Linked DNA regions of Homo sapiens: regions 1 and 2 are each linked to region 3. The links are contacts of gene promoters, found by promoter capture Hi-C in blood cells and fetal thymus (Javierre and others, 2016). All regions are on one chromosome and are shown on one strand. The core of a region is centred on a gene start or on the middle of the fragment in contact, and the rest is flanking DNA. Distances in the headings are between cores, read along the strand shown. Region 1 holds the start of SDHC (succinate dehydrogenase complex subunit C). Region 2 overlaps F11R (F11 receptor). Region 3 holds the start of UFC1 (ubiquitin-fold modifier conjugating enzyme 1).

Region 1 (2,700 bases), core at 39-2,538, 160 kb after region 3:
TTGTTAACGTGAAGCTCCAGAGAGCCAAGTCAATGACTGGAATTTCGATAGCACAAAACTGTATTTAAATATAATAACTAACGAATAAGTTGTTCATTAAATAAAACTTGTTGTTTGAGGTACCCATCATTGAATATGGGGGGGTAGAGTCTTGAAGATCAGCTGTTATGGGTGTTGCAGAGGAGATCCCTGCATAGATAGTAGATTGGATTAGAGAGCCTCTTTCAATCCTAAAGTGTACGAATGTGCTTTGTCAAGCATTATAGAAATGCAAAGTAGTATTATTCATCTGATGCAGAAATAAGTGAATTTGTGCTATTTAAATCCTGAAGTGCAGGGATGCTAAATATACATAAGATCTGAATATTAATATAATTGAGTATTTTTTTTGTAGAAATAGGAGTTGCTCTAGCCTGTCCCTTTTACTCCTCTCCACCCTACTCCCCACAAGAGTCAAGAACTTTTGTGCTCTGTTCCCTTCCTTTATCATTTGCTCTTCTTCTTTCTTCAGTCTTGAGTGCTCGGCAGTTGATTCCTGTGCTTGGGTTCCCTAAAACTGTATATATATATATACACATATATAAATCAAAGCGTGTTCTTCCCCTCACTCCGGGTTCTTCTAGCTGTGGGTGTCACCCACATAGCGCTGAAACAACGAACAAGGGAGCATTGTCCTCGGCTAGTGGGCGCCTGGTCCATGTGGCAGCTCAAACCCAGGAATTGTGGGGTCTAATCGAGGTGGTTAGATGAGGCTCCTCGTTTTCGGGAATGGTGGTCCGCAAGGTCTTCTCGAGGCCCCTCTACACACTCCCCAACTTAGGTCACAATTTATGTATCTGTCTGGTTAAAGCTTCGTATTAGAAAGGGAGGGAACCCAAAGTATCTTTTCTCTTCGGGGTCTCAACCGGCCAACCACCACGTTTTTAGGCCGACCTGGGAGGCAGGGGGAACGCAACAGACTGCGAAGTCCTTAAGGAAGAATCTAAACAAGTCCGCCGTTTGCTGTTTGGGAGTGCGATACAAAATGAATATGTACGCAGGTGGAACGTAGACTGCAGATTTTGAGCCAGCGGCGTTTCTGCCGAAATCCTGGCAAATTCCGGTAGAAGTCGGCTGCAGGAGGCGGAGGAGGAGACTAAAAAACCAGAAAACAACCAGCAAACCAGCTAGGCAGAGCTGAGCGGAGAAGCTCCAGAGCCTTTTAAAGAGACTCTCGTCACATGACACCCCCAACCCCGACCCCCAGCCGGCGCGCCTCCGCCCTCGGGTGGCGGGGCCGCCTGGCGTCACTTCCGTCCAGACCGGAACCCAAGATGGCTGCGCTGTTGCTGAGGTGACTTCAGTGGGACTGGGAGTTGGTGCCTGCGGCCCTCCGGAGATCTGAACTGGCCCCTCACGTTTTGCTGATAACTGTTTATCCTGTGCCTGGGCAGGGAAAGGACCCATGGGTGTGGAGGCCAAGCGCTCGGGGATCCTAGAGACCCCTTTTCCCGTCCCCCCCAGCCGCTCCGGTGCGCTCCGTAGGGCTTCGGGGTCACTGACTTCGTATCGAGGGGCCCTCGGCTCTCGCCCCTTCTGTTTTCCCCACCTCCTCTAGTACTTCTAACGCAAATTGCTCTCGGGCCTGCACCCAGAGCCGAGCTCTGAGAAAATAACTTCAAGGTCAGCCACCCATGGGTCCTACGATTTCGAGAGCGTATTTAGACATTTAGCTTCGGAGAGAGAGATCTTCGTGTATTTTGCCTTTGCTTCGAATGCCTTCAGACACTAGCTGCTCCCACCGTGAGTGGGCGCTGTCTGGGTTCCCAGCGGGCTGCTGGCAAAGGGTGGATCCCTACTGGGGTGGCGATTAGCATTAGCACCCAGGGCGGACCTCTGCTGCCCCAGAGCAACCCGGGGAATTCATTTTTAGTTAATCATTTTACTTGGGAGGGAGAGTGAGTGTCCCAGTTTTTCTCTAAAATGTGAATTAGTTGTCCAGAGAAATACCCTAGATTTTCTTTCATTCTGAACTTTCCGCTGTCTAGGTCTCATTCTCTGCTCAGCCTCTCTAGTCACAGCGACTAGCGCCTTTAGACACGCCTGGTACAAATCCCAGCATAGTTTTGTGCCAGCCTTATTTTTGGAAATTGTTTGTTATGGAAAGTTAGCTTCAATGCTGTTGAGATTTCAATCCCTGATTTCCCCAAATGTGTTCTCATTTCTCTTTCCACTTCAGTCACCCAGTTTAAAAATAGAGGGACTTTGTTTAGTTTTTCTGTGACAAAATGATTCCTCTTGGAGTTGAAATCAGGGTTATCTTAATCCTTCATTTTCTCCCTGTTTTTCATCTCCATATGTATCTTCTGTCTAAGGTATGCCAAGGCTTGTCTTGCCAGTGCTGTCTTCTTTATTCCAGATGGTTTGACCATAATTGAATGCTTTTGAATTCTCTGATATATTTTGGTATCGATGTTAGGGGCTTTTGGTAAAATTAACATTTAGTTTGAAGTGATCATATTGGTTCCAAACAGTTCATTTTAGGAGTTTTGGAATTAGTGTTTAAAAGCTGAGGATCATTATAGTCATTAAGTGTATCCATACAGTATCATTTTGAGTTGTGCAGCGCTGTCCACTGAAGGGATGGGTCGCCCCTCCACACCTGTGGGTGTTTCTCGTTAGGTGGAACGAGAGACTTGGAAAAGAAAGAGACACAGACAA
Region 2 (2,700 bases), core at 167-2,666, 140 kb before region 3:
ACAGTATGTGTTCACTCATACTGCTTTCCACAACCGTCACACAATAGTGAAACCTCATCCTCAATTATGTTGGACGCAAGGTCATCCAGGTCTTTCCTGAATCTCTGAAACAGAAACTGGTTTGAGTTTAGAGATCTCCAGGGTCTCTAGTCAAACCTAACAGATGTGATAAACAAGTCTCATTATTATCACATAAAATGTGCATGGCATTTAAATCTATTTTTGGGTGTGGTGGAAACGTGTGTTGCCCATTTATGTGTCCACAGAACAAGTGCAAATTGAACTCAGCTGACTTGGAGGGGGGTGGGATGTATCCTAACAGCCAAGGCCACAATCCCTAGAAACCAATATGGGCCAGGTGTAGTGACTCATACCTGTCATTCAGCATTTTGAAAGGCCAAGGCAAAAGGATCCCTTAAAGCCAAGAATTCAAGACCAGCCTGTACAACAGATGAGACCCTGTCTGTACTAAAAAAATAAAAAATTAGCCAGGTATGGCTCACCACTCACACTTGCCTATAGCCTCAGCTATTCAGGAGGCTAAGACTGGAGGATTGCTTGAACCCAGGAGGTCAAGGCTGCAGTGAGGCCAGGCACGGTGGCTCATGCCTGTAATCCCAGCACTTTGGGAGGCCAAGGCAGGCGGATCACTTGAAGTCAGGAATTCAAGACCAGCTTGGCCAACATGGTGAAACCCTATCTCTACTAAAAATACAAAAATTAGCCGGGCAGCTCACACCTGTAATCCCAGCACTTTGGGAGGCCAATGGGGGCAGATCACAAGGCCAGGAGATCAAGACCATCCTGGCTAACATGGTGAAATCCCATCTCTACTAAAAATACAAAAAAAAAAAAAAATTAGCAGGGAATGGTGGCGGGTGCCTGTAGTCCCAGCTACTTGGGAGGCTGAGGCAGGAGAATGGCGTGAACCCGGGAGGCAGAGCTTGCAGTGAGCCGAGATCACGCCACTGCACTCCAGCCTGGGTAACAGAGCAAGACTCCATCTCAAAAAAAAAAAATTAAATTAAAAAAATATGTACAAAAGGCTGGGCACAGTGGCTCATGCCTGTAATCCCAGCATTTTGGGAGGCCGAGGCAGGCAGATCACGAGGTCAGCAGATCGAGACCATCCTGGCTAACACGGTGAAACCCCGTCTCTACTAAAAAAAATACAAAAAATCAGCCGGAGTGGTGGCGGGCCCCTGTAGTCCCAGCTACTCGGGAGGCTGAGGCAGGAGAATGGCGTGAACCCGCGAGGCGGAGCTTGCAGTGAGCCGAGATTGCTCCAGTGCACTCCAGCCTGGGTGACAGAGCCAGACTCCATCTCAAAAAAAAAAATATATATATATATATATATACACACACACAAAAATTAGCCAAGAATGGTGGTGCACGCTTGTGTCCCAGCTACTCGGGAGGCTGAGGCAGGAGAATCACTTGAACCTGGGAGGCAGAGTCTGCAGTGAGACAAGATCACGCCACTGGACTCCTCCCTGGGCAACACAGCAAGACTTTGTCTCAAAAAAAAAAAAAAAGGCTGCAGTGAGCTATGATCATGCCATTGTACTCCAGCCTGGGCAACAGAGTGAGACCCTGTTTCAAAAACAACAACAACAACAACAAAACTCCATGATATATATATATAAGCAAGATGTAGAATATATGTAGTATGCCTCTTTTTGTGTCAGAAAGGGGAGAAAAAACAAGTATTATTTATATATACTTGTATCTGTAAAATGAAACACTGAAGAGACATTAGAAACTATTGGGGTTTGGGGTGAACAGGAGCAACATGGGAATGAGATACCCCACCCCTTTGATATCATTTTAATTATAAAACCATGTCAATTAACCTATTCTAATTAAATTTTTTTAAAAAAAATCACAGTAGCTCTATCTTGAATCGGAACTGGGCTGGAGACTCCACAAGACATGATCACAAAGGAACTGAAGAGCAACATGGTGAGGTAAAAGTGGTCTGGAGTGGCCAGGTGCAGGGGTTCACGCCTGTAATCCCAGCACTTTGGAAAGCCTAGGCAAGAGGATTACTTGAAGTCAGGAGTTCGAGACCAGCCTGGCCAACATGGTGAAAACCCGTCTCTACTAAAAATACAAAAAATTAGGGGCCGGGCGCGGTGGCTCACGCCTGTAATCCCAGCACTTTTGGAGGCCGTGGCGGGCAGATCATGAGGTCAGGAGATCAAGACCATCCTGGCTAACACAGTGAAACCTCGTCTCAACTAAAAATAGAAAAAATTAGCCAGGCATGGTGGCGGGCGCCTGTAGTCCCAGCTACTCAGGAGGCTGAGGCAGGAGAATGGCATGAACCCGGGAGGTGGAGTTTGCAGTGAGCCGAGATCGTGCCACTGTACTCCAGCCTGGCGACAGAGAGAGACTCTGTCTCAAAAACAAATAAATAAATAAATAATACAAAAAATTAGCCGGGCGTGGTGGCGCGTGCCTGTAGTCCCAGCTGCTGGGGAGGCTAAGGCAGGAGAATCGCTTGAAGCCGGGAGGTGGAGGTTGCAGTGAGCCAAGATCATGCTACTGCATTCCAGCCTGGGTAACAGAATGAGACTCCGTCTCAAAAAAAAAAAAAGTGATCTGGAGCCAGAAGGCAAAGACTAAAGGACACTGAAATTCCACTGCCACTCGTTTCCTAGTTCCAGGTAGAACTAGGAAGTGCCAGTCACCAGTTTC
Region 3 (2,700 bases), core at 18-2,517:
GGATTACAGGCTTGAGCCACCACGCCAGCCAAACAGGATATTTAAATTAAAGCCAAAATGGCCGGCGCGGTGGCTCACGCCTGTAATCCCAGCACCTTGGGAGGCTGAGGCAGGTGGATCACCTGAGGTCAGGAGTTCAAGACCAACCTGGCCAACATGGCGAAACCCGGTCTCTACTAAAAATACAAAATCAGCCGGGCGTGGTAGCACATGCCTGTAATCCCAGCTACTCAGGACGCTGAGGCAGGAGAATCAATTGAACCCGGGAGGCGGAGGTTGCGGTGAGCCGAGATCATGCCATTGCACTCCAGCCTGGGCAACAAGAGTGAAACTCGGTCTCCAAAAAAAAAAAAAAAAAAAGCAAAAATTAATGTGTTTAGATTTTAAGTCCAACTGGAGTTTGTTTATTGTTTCCCCACAAGTAATCCCAGCACTTTGGGGAGGCTGGGGCAGGAGGATCGCTTGAGCCCGGGAGATGGAAGATGCAGTAAGCTATGATCGTACCACTGTACTCCAGCCTGGGCAACAGATTGAGACACTGTCTAAAAAAAAAAAAGTCTAGGACTCAGTGAATGGCTAGACTAAGGCAGAAATCTTGCAGGGATTTGTCTTTTGATTCTGCATGGTTTCTAATCTTTATCAGGAGTTAAACATCCTTCTACAGGATAACTGCATCTAGAGGCAGGACTATATATAAGCAAAGGAAAAGTTCTTCGAAGAGGAAACACGAATCGCTCGTTTTAGGAAGTCAGTGCCTTGAAAAGCGCCTTGGGGTTGGGGGCTCGGGGCTGGGGGAGGGATAGCATTAGGAGAAATACCTAATGTAAATGACGAGTTGATGGGTGCAGCAAACCAACATGGCACAAGTATACCTATGTATCAAACTTGCACGTTGTGCACATGTACTCTAGAACTTAAGGTATAATAAAAATAAATAAATAAGTAAAAATGCCTTCAGCAGCCTGAAGTTCTAAGAGCTTTCCAAGTTTGGGAAGGTGTCCGGGTTTTCTGCGATTACTTCTCTGAGCATGAACGGAAGTCACCCTTTGTGCCTTATGCGGTGATTTTAATGATAGGTGTCATATATAGGACGGAGTAATCTGTTTACATTCTGTTCTTCTCGATGCACTCACAAGCGGGTAACTAGGTGACAAGAAAACAAAGATCTTATTCAAAAGAGGTCTTACAGCAACCCAACGTCTCATCTTCCCATAGTAAAGATGACGGCGCCTTGAGGTAAGCTACAGGCAACACCACTTCCGCGTTTCTCTTGCGCCCTGGTCCAAGATGGCGGATGAAGCCACGCGACGTGTTGTGTCTGAGATCCCGGTGCTGAAGACTAACGCCGGACCCCGAGATCGTGAGTTGTGGGTGCAGCGACTGAAGGAGGAATATCAGTCCCTTATCCGGGTTAGTTGTGTTTCTACAGTCTAACGCGTAGCATAAGGGTTGGGAGAAATCAGGTGTCCTCAATAATAGGCTCCGTGTGGAAGCCGCTTCCGGTTTTTAAGTTTAACGCCCAAATTCATAGAAATGGGACTATTGTGGGGCTCGGGGACTAAGGAGGGATGGTGGGGAGAGGGCAAAAAAGACTCGGGTGAGGTGCACAGTGGGGCCAGACCTTGCGGCTAAAAGCAGCAGTTATTTTAGGGATACGCTTCCCCAGAAGGTGACGTGTCTCCCTGGCTACAGGTGTTTGTTCACCTGGATGTGAACAAAAATCCTCAGGGCGCCAACTCCCAGTCCGCATCTCTCTGCCCCCTTCTTCACTCTTCACTGTTTTGTTTGTTTGTTTGACGGAGTCTCGCTCTGTTGCTAGGCTGGAGTGCAGTGGCGCGATCTCGGCTCACTGCAACCTCCGACTCCCGGGTTCAAGCGAGTCTCCTGCCTCAGCCTCCTGAGTAGCTGGGACTACAGGCGCGCGCCACCACACCCAGCTAATTTTTGTATTTTCAGTAGAGACGGGGTTTCACCGTGTTGGCCAGGATGGTCTCGATCCCCTGACCTCGTGATCCTGATCCACCCGCCTCGGCCTCCCAAAGTGCTGAGATTACAGGCGTGAGCCACCGCGCCTGGCCTCACTCTTCACTCTTTCAAGCCACATTAGGGCTGAAAATTCAAGTAGGTGTTAACTACAGAGAGTTGGGGAGTTTAGCTCATAGTTAGAAACGGGCTGTCTTCTCAGTTATCTCTACTGTGGAAGGTGAGAAAAGTTTGTCTTCCTTGTAGTTTCTGCCTGCTTCAAAGACCAGCAGTTCTAGTTCTCCTACCTCATGTATTCATTCACTAAAAAAAAAAAATTACTGTGCATATAGAACCTAGGGAGGAGATACCAAGCCGAATAAGGAGGAACTTACTGAGGTAGACAAAACCAGATCATTATAATACAGTGTTTAAGTGGAGAGAGACTGAGACAGATATGGACAGATATAAAGCGAGAAATGGCTAGGATGTTTTGAGAGCATAAGAGGAGACATCCAGTTTGCATTCGGTCACGGAAGGTTTCCTGGAAGAGGTAATGCTTGAGCTGAAACTTAAAGAGTAAACATAAGCTAGCCTGATAAAACATAAGAGTAGAAGGACATTCAAGCCAAAAGGGACAGCATGAGCAAAGGCATAGAATCTAGAAACGGCACAGGCACCAGCATGATGTGTTTGAAGAAACAAAGTAGCTCAGAGTTGTTAGAGCATCAAATGTGA

What was found. Contacts are between HindIII fragments. The CHiCAGO score rates a contact against its expected background, and 5 or more counts as called.
Region 1: the fragment with the promoter of SDHC here is called in contact with the fragment with the promoter of UFC1 in region 3 in 2 of 17 cell types (naive CD4 T cells and M1 macrophages); the score reaches 6.1 in naive CD4 T cells.
Region 2: a contact is called between a fragment that was not itself captured here and the fragment with the promoter of UFC1 in region 3, in 1 of 17 cell types (erythroblasts). The highest score is 5.1, in erythroblasts.

What each region holds. Positions count from the first base shown.
Region 1 is chr1:161,313,093-161,315,792 of GRCh38, forward strand. SDHC (succinate dehydrogenase complex subunit C) reads left to right here and starts at 1,289. Exons shown (of 6, transcript NM_003001.5): 1 at 1,289-1,333. The coding sequence starts at 1,314. RefSeq lists an enhancer at 865-1,628 and silencers at 1,180-1,239, 1,270-1,339. The HindIII fragment of the contact is 7,788 bases long and covers 849-2,700 here.
Region 2 is chr1:161,014,071-161,016,770 of GRCh38, forward strand. The region is part of intron 1 of F11R (F11 receptor); the gene reads right to left. Among named protein-coding and RNA genes, the nearest start is that of F11R, 5.7 kb to the right of the region's middle. RefSeq lists enhancers at 1-193, 1,835-2,432. The HindIII fragment of the contact is 7,117 bases long and covers 1-2,700 here.
Region 3 is chr1:161,152,711-161,155,410 of GRCh38, forward strand. UFC1 (ubiquitin-fold modifier conjugating enzyme 1) reads left to right here and starts at 1,268. Exons shown (of 6, transcript NM_016406.4): 1 at 1,268-1,410. The coding sequence starts at 1,288. RefSeq lists enhancers at 850-1,630, 868-2,067, 956-1,005, 1,096-1,145, 1,186-1,575. The HindIII fragment of the contact is 16,464 bases long and covers 1-2,700 here.